Linked DNA regions of Homo sapiens: region 2 is linked to region 1. Evidence: promoter capture Hi-C in 16 types of primary human blood cells and fetal thymus (Javierre and others, 2016). All regions are on one chromosome and are shown on one strand. The core of a region is centred on a gene start or on the middle of the fragment in contact, and the rest is flanking DNA. Distances in the headings are between cores, read along the strand shown.

Region 1 (3,542 bases), core at 377-2,876:
ATCCTCTCCAGTTTCTTGTAATTCTTGTCATCTGACAGACCACTGAAGCCGATAACTTGCTGTTCTACACTTTTTACTTCCTTTTGGATTTCCTGAAGCCTACTAATAGAAGGATGTTGGTTTCCCATATCCATACTTTTGTTGTGTTCAGTTTCACAAGCACTAAAAGACGACAAGAATGATAACTTACTACAGCACAAGGCTTCTGCAGAACACTAATGGTATATTAAGTCATTCTAAAATTCTCATTTTAAAAAGGTATACTTCTGAGCAGTCATCCCACCTCAGCCTCCCCAGTAGCTGGGTCTACAGTCGTACACCACTACGCCCAGCTAATGTTATTTTTAGTAGAGACAGGTCTCACTATATTGCCCAGGCTGGTCTCAGACGATCCGCCCGCCTCCGCCTCCCAAAGTGCTGGGATTAAGGTGTGAGTCACCGTACGCGACACAAACTATTTGGAACCAGCAGGGCACCTTTATGAAAGGTGAAACAGTAGCTCTTGTAACCTTCCGAACACTAACAGTACCCCGCCCCGCCACACAGCTATGCCTAGTTTCCAGAAACTCTAAGCAAAAGAAAGAACCAGAACAAAAACCAGTGGCTCTCAGACATCCCCAAGGTCCCCGCTTCTTCGTTTCTCTCCATCCCTTTGTGCACTTCCCCTCCCCACCCTTTTAGCTCCTCACACATCTTCCCTCACAGAAGTCTCCCTGAAGAGATTAAAACCCCACAGGTAAAGAAGAGCGACCGGGACAGCGCTGAAGGGCACCACCTTGGGCTTTCGAGGCCCAACACCTCCTCAGCCCCCAACATGCTCCACTCTCTCAAAAAAAAACAACCCGCGAAAACGTGGTAACTATGAATAATTCATTCACTCGCCTCCCACTGGGAGTCCACAATGGCCTAATGCACGTTTCAAGCTCTTGGTTTCTATCAAACGGCTCGCTCAAGGTGGGTAACCAATGGAAACGCATAATCTATCCCCGGCGGATGTCCTGGAGGCCACGGAGGGAAGGCGGCCCGAGCTGCTTCCTCCCCGCCTCGCCCTTCCCTCTTGGCCCTTTACCCAAAAGAAGTCTGAATTGGATGCGGTCTTGGCGTCCCGTGGCTGAGGTGGCGAGGTGGAAGATCAGCCCTTTACGGGGTGCGGCACCGGAGCTGGGCCCCCAGCTGCATGCCTCGCACCCCTCCCGACTAGGTCTGAGCGGGGCAGCCGGTGAAGGGGCCGCTACTGGCTGCAGCAGCCGCTCCGGGCGTCTTGGCCCGGGTGCCAGGGCGCGCCTGCAGGACGTGACCTCACAATGGGCGCGCGAGGGGAGCTCGGCCCGGCCGGGGGAAGCCGGGGGAGGAGGGGAACCGAGGCCCGGCCGGAGACACCAGAGACCAGGCCCGGCCAGCCCCGGTCGCTTCCGACCCCAGGGGCGGGGACAGCGCCGAGACCGACTCTGCCCTGCCTGATCCGACAGGCCGCACGGGGCTGGGCGCTGGCGAAGGGGTGGCCCAGCGGGGAGCCCCGCGCGGAGGTGGTGCCCCACTCGTCCCCCCGAGAGAGGGAAAAGGCTACAAGCCGCGCTTCGCTCACCTGTCCCGCCCGCGCCATCGCGCGATGCGTCGCCGACGCTTCCACGACTTCCGCAGCTCCGGCAGTCGCCCGGGCCCGGCAGCCCCGCCCCTGGCCGAACACCCCTAAACCCGGGGACACCTCCTCCGGCGTCCGCGCCTAGCCGCCGGCAGCGCCACGCCCACCGCCAGCGGCGCAGCGAGGCAGCCTGGAGTGACCGCGACCAAGGAGCGGCCGCCCGGGTCAGCCCGCGCCGCCCGCCGCCCCCTCACCCCGTCGCACCGCTGGGAAAGCGCACGGTCGGCCGCGCCGCCGCGCTTCCTCGGGCTTCGCGACCCTGCCGTAAAGCGGCCCCTCGCGCCGTCGCAATGCTGCCGTGCGCCGCGGGAGCCAGGGGGCGTGGGGCCATGGTGGTCTTGCGGGCGGGGAAGAAGACCTTTCTCCCCCCTCTCTGCCGCGCCTTCGCCTGCCGCGGCTGTCAACTCGCTCCGGAGCGCGGCGCCGAGCGCAGGGATACGGCGCCCAGCGGGGTAAGCAGGGGCCTGGGGACATTGGGCCGGGAGGGGTGACCGGAAGGGAAGACAAACCCGGGCCTCGGGGCCACTCCCTGTTCTGCACAGCCGCCTCAGGCCTTTGTCCAGGTGCTCTCGCGTCCTATCCCGAACAGTCCCGCAGCCCCGAGGCTCCCGCATCAACGCCCTCAGTCGGATGGGACTGAGGGTGCCGCCGCCACCACGCCGGGGACTGTTGACAGCCAGAACCTTTAAGCGTAACAGAGTCACCTGGCAAGTTTGTACCTACCTTATTTGTTCCCGAGAATGATTATTTTTTATTTTTAAAGAGCTCTTGGCTTACCGTGCGTTTTTTTTCGTTGTGTGTGTGTGTGTTTTGGCTTTGTTACAATTATTAGTGCTTTTCTTCAAGCGGCGAGCACTTTATCATCGTACTTTTGTAGCACTTCACGTTGAATAGTTGTTATTTGCAAACTATGTGTGGGTATATGCATGTTACTGGCCAAAGATCCGCAAAGAATGTCTGTAGCAAGAATGTCTGTGGCAAGCAATTTTTATAAGTGGTACTTTTGGGAGGGATGTTTTGTTTAAGGGAGGCCTAGGCCTTGATTCCGTCTGTCAGATGAAAATGTTGACTAACGGTGTGGAATGGGCTGGAGATAAAATATTCAAGCAAAGCATGCAAATACCAAACAGGCTAATGAAGGAGGCTGGAAAACTTGGTTTAAACAATAATTAAAGAAGTATTAAAAAAGTGTTAATTAAAAATTGGACGGGCTCCGTGGCTCACGCTTGTAATCCCAGCACTTTGGGAGGCCGAGGCAAGCGGATCACGAAATCAAGAGGTGAGACCATCCTGCCCAACATGGTGAAACGTCTCTGCTAAAAATACAGAAATTAGCTGGGCATAGTGGCGCGCGCCTGTAGACCCAGCTACTCGGGAGGATGAGGCAGGAAAATCGCTTGAACCCGGGAGACGGAGGTTGCTGTGAGTCGAGATCGCGCCACTGCACTCCAGCCTGGCGACAGAGGGAGACTTCATCTCAAAAAAAAAAAAGCTAATTAAAAATTGCAAATGTACTTGCTTGTACATTTTCATTTCTGTTGGGCTGTGGCTGTTAGTACACTTTCATAATTGTAGCTTTGAAGGTCTATCTAGTTTACAATTTAAACAAGGAGTTACCAGGGCAACTTGCCAACCAGACACCCAAGTGGCTAGCTCAGTTCTGTGTTACAGTGACCAAGTCCTTGCCTTCTATCCCTAGAACATAGAAACCCACCCAGCATCTCTATCTTTGGGCAGAAAGATAGAGCAGGTGTCTGAAAATGCTCTAAGAGAGCAAACGGGAAATCAACCAAGACATTTCCCGGGCGGGGGGGATTTTCCCTAGCTTATTTTGTGAACTTGTGCTGGAAAGAAACAACAGCACCCAAATAAGGATTTCTCTATTGTCATATACACTTCT
Region 2 (3,975 bases), core at 410-2,909, 1.4 Mb before region 1:
CTTTTTTTCCTCTTGATAATTAGGAAACACAGATAAATTATTTTTAGATGATTCAAGATGCCACTATCCTTCAAGTTGATTATTGTAAAATACGTGTTTTCAATGTAAAATAACACAGTTATGGAGTTTGGGATATAGCCATGGTAACGACAGAACATACCCTGGTGTTTTAAGATTAGGGAAAGTCGGATAACATCAAAACAATTCTAAGAAAAAATTTTAAGTATTTTTCAGGCTCTATTAATTAAGAAGTACTTCAGTGCTTTTTTTTCTTTTTTTTTTCCAACACTACAAAGGCTAAAGATGTTATTATCAAATGTATTACTACATCATTGGCACAGTTTCTATTGGTATCTACTTGCTTTTTAATACGGAAGATGTTTATGATTTACACTCCTCCTACTTTAGAAATTCTCTCCATTCACTTCTTTTGTGCCCCTCCAGATATAATCTGAACTTCCAGGAATAGATCATTCTTGGTGTTACAAATGTTGGCTTCCCCCCTCCCTGGAATTCTATTAGAATGTTTCTGTCACTTTAGAAGCTTTCTTATTCTGGTGTAACATGCCAAGAAACCCAGGTATAAAATAGTGATTGTTGAATCTTACTTTGACACGTGTGCCCGTCCTTATAAATCTAGACCCTGTACATTACATGCATACAACTATCCCTATGGATCTACTAGTAAATAATCTCACAGACTCCACCTGAGGCTTCTGGAAAAAAAAACAATTACCTTAAATTTTATTAAGAGCTCTTCGTAACCTACTGAGCAAGATCAGTGAATCCTAAAAAGATTCAGTCCCCGGTTCCCAAAGCGCTTCCCCGCCCCGTGTTTCTGAACAGCTGGAGAGGACAAACCTCCGCTAAGAAGCGGAGGCCGCCAGTGCTCATCACACGCAGGAATTAGGATATCTGGCTTGAGAACACCTATGCTGTACCACATTCTTCTCTCCCCCTACCCCGCCTGAAATAAAACATAGTGAAGCGTAAATCTTGAGTCCCTTGGTACCTTCTCAGAAACGGCGGCGAGGAGGCTTCAGAGGGGCTTCCTGGGCGGGGATCCAGACGGTCGCGCGGGTATTCAGCACTCTGGGCGGGACAGTCCCTGTCCCGAAGGGAGGGCCCAGGAGGGGTGGAGCCGTCCCCGCCCGAACACGGGGGCATCCGCGCTCCCCGTAGGGTACCCCGCGTGCTGGCTCCGAAGCGGTGGCCGTCGGGGTGGCGCTCTTCCTCCGCTCTTTGGGGTCCCGGCGCCCCTCAGGGCAGGGCGGGAGACCGCTGAGGAGGCACCCTCAAGTTCACCTCAGGCTCATGACACCAGCCCCGCCGCGGTTCCCCCTGACCGGCTTTCCGCTGGCCCTGGCGGCTGCGGAACGGTCAACTAGACCCCACTAGCTGAAGCCGGCATCACCTGGGAAGCAGCCATGCCGCCCGGAGGCCACACCCGGGGGAGGAGCCTGCGGACGCCCAGTCGGGTGGAGCACGCCAGGTGAGCACGCCTGCGCAGTCGGGCCGTAAACAAGCCCACCCCTTCCCTTTGGCCCGCCCTCGCAGGGCTGGCCCGCGGGTGGGAGGGGCGAGAAGGAAGAGGCAGGGGGTGGGGGAAGAGGGAGCACCAGGAACAGCGCCTGCGCGGTGGGCGTGATCCGGGCACTTAGGGCAGGATGAACGCTGCTTTCCAAGATGGCGACGGAGGGAGGAGGGAAGGAGATGAACGAGATTAAGACCCAATTCACCACCCGGGAAGGTCTGTACAAGCTGCTGCCGCACTCGGAGTACAGCCGGCCCAACCGGGTGCCCTTCAACTCGCAGGGATCCAACCCTGTCCGCGTCTCCTTCGTAAACCTCAACGACCAGTCTGGCAACGGCGACCGCCTCTGCTTCAATGTGGGCCGGGAGCTGTACTTCTATATCTACAAGGGGGTCCGCAAGGTACCGACCCGGGCGTCACCGGAGCCAGCCAGCGGCGTAGGCAGAGGCCGGGAGCAGGGCGGTGACAGTGGGGCCAGGGTGACCGAGAGGGGTGGCCGTCGCTCTTACTTTTGAGTGGGCCGGTAACTCCACTGGGGTACTCCTGAGGAGAGGGGATTCAGGAGTAAGGAGGGTGGTGGCGGTGGCGTTTCGAAGGGGTGGGGGCAGTGGAAAGGGACCGTGGGGCGCGGGGGTTCTGGCTGGGAGGCTCCCGGGGGAGCCGGCTGCGTCCCCTCCAGCCTGGTCCATCAGGCTCTGACATGGCCAGGGAGCGGGCCTGCGAGTCCCCGGAAGAGGTGAGGTGGCCGTCTTGTCTGCTTCGATTGCCTCGCCTCCCTGGAGGGTTGGAAGTCTCGCCCTGGGTTAGAGAACAGGGACGCAAGACGGCTTAACAAGATCTCTGTAAGGCGGAACCGGGGCCGGGAAGCGGAGCATTGAGACTAGGTCAGAAAGAACCTGCTCGGCACGCAGGGCTACTCCACCTGCTGCCGCACTGACACTTCCTAGGAGCCTCTCCTGGTGTTAACATTTCTATTTCCAAAAACATCCGCGGGAGGACGGCTGTCACTGTCTCCGCCGTGGGGACCTTCTGAAAGATTGTTAAGGAGAGTCATCTTGTCCCTTGTAGTATGCGAAGGGCTGAGTACTACAGTTGAAATGATGTTTCCAGTGAACTAAGCTGGTTCAGAGGGGTTGTGTGAGAGTGCCCAGATTAATCTTGTCCAACAAGTCAGACTGTGTCCCAAACAGGGAGTGATATGCTTTAAAAGCTGCTTTAAAGGGACCATCCTTCTTGGCGGGCGAGTTACCGGTAATTCTGTGAAACATGTAAGCATCCTTTAAAAGTATCTCTTTAAAAGCAGCCATTTATTAGAGTTTTTCTTTCATTGGCTATGTAACTATGTTTTCACTGAGAATTGCTTATTTTTGAGATTGTAGTCTTTGACTTGATGTCATGGAAGAGTGAGGAAATTAATGCATCCCACAGCACCTCCAAATAGGACAAGGTGATAAAAGATTAAGTCGTAAATGCATGTTAGCATGAAAATAAATTGTTCATATTGAAGAGTGAACATTCTTCAGGATTTAATATAGCCAGATCCAGTACAGGATTTTCGCTTGTTACAAGAGCTAGGGAAATGACAGTGGTATCTAAATGTAGCAAAGTTGTTTCTTTGATTCAGGGTGAATCTTTTTTTCTTAGTCTTTATGATAATAAGTGTACCACTGTATTTAGGGTATGCTGTTGGAAGTTATTAAGGGTAAATCGCTTGACCTTTTTTTTTTCCTCGTTTGGAATTGCAAAAGCTCGAAGTAGTCTTCAGTCTAGGGGCTGAAGTTTTACTCCTACTCCCAACTTTGTCACTGACTTGTTTGGGTGACCTTGGATAAGTTATTTAACTTCTATTTGCACCTCTTTAAAAAGGGAATGTTACAGTGCACGTTGTAATTAATAATATAATAATCATAATGAACTTTAAGGCCCTGAAACACTCAGTAGATGTAAAATATAGTTAAATACTGACTGTCAAATAAGAAGCTGCTGTCTTGACATTGATAATCAGAGTGAAAGGACCAATTTTGTCTCAGGAAATTAAGTTTAGAATTTTAAGTTATAAAAATTTATATTTATATAAAAATACGATGTGCTTAAAAACTAAATTCACTAACTAGCAATTATTAATGTAGGAATTACTTAAAAATTTTTTTTTCTTTGAAATGTTATGACTTCTGAAGCATCCTAATGGCAGACCTTATCTGGATCTGGTAGCCCTGTTTTACATCATAAAGACAGGTTTCTTGCCTGGAAGTATCATTACAATAGTGTTCTCTTTTAGTGGGACGCTATTCCCTGAAGGGTAAAAGGAGGCAAGGTTTTTAAAACCACACCAAAAAATTATTTTAAACAAGATAAATGTGAAATACGTAAATTGCCCTTACCTGCATAATTTGAGTGTTTTAACGCTTTTTGGGTAAAATTTCATTTTCATGTGGTAGTAT

The links. Contacts are between HindIII fragments. The CHiCAGO score rates a contact against its expected background, and 5 or more counts as called.
Region 2: a contact is called between the fragment with the promoter of WDR20 here and the fragment with the promoter of BAG5 in region 1, in 1 of 17 cell types (neutrophils). The highest score is 5.6, in neutrophils.

What each region holds. Positions count from the first base shown.
Region 1 is chr14:103,561,031-103,564,572 of GRCh38, forward strand. It overlaps BAG5 (BAG cochaperone 5), which reads right to left and starts at 1,627. Exons shown (of 2, transcript NM_001015048.3): 1 at 1,586-1,627; 2 at 1-162. The coding sequence starts at 134. It overlaps COA8 (cytochrome c oxidase assembly factor 8), which reads left to right and starts at 1,930. Exons shown (of 5, transcript NM_001370595.2): 1 at 1,930-2,094. The coding sequence starts at 1,972. RefSeq lists enhancers at 232-745, 845-894 and a silencer at 1,235-1,884. The HindIII fragment of the contact is 16,544 bases long and covers 1-3,542 here.
Region 2 is chr14:102,138,238-102,142,212 of GRCh38, forward strand. WDR20 (WD repeat domain 20) reads left to right here and starts at 1,660. Exons shown (of 3, transcript NM_144574.4): 1 at 1,660-1,935. The coding sequence starts at 1,687. It also overlaps a transcript of HSP90AA1 not described here. RefSeq lists a silencer at 900-1,095 and enhancers at 1,696-1,745, 1,756-1,915. The HindIII fragment of the contact is 7,184 bases long and covers 543-3,975 here.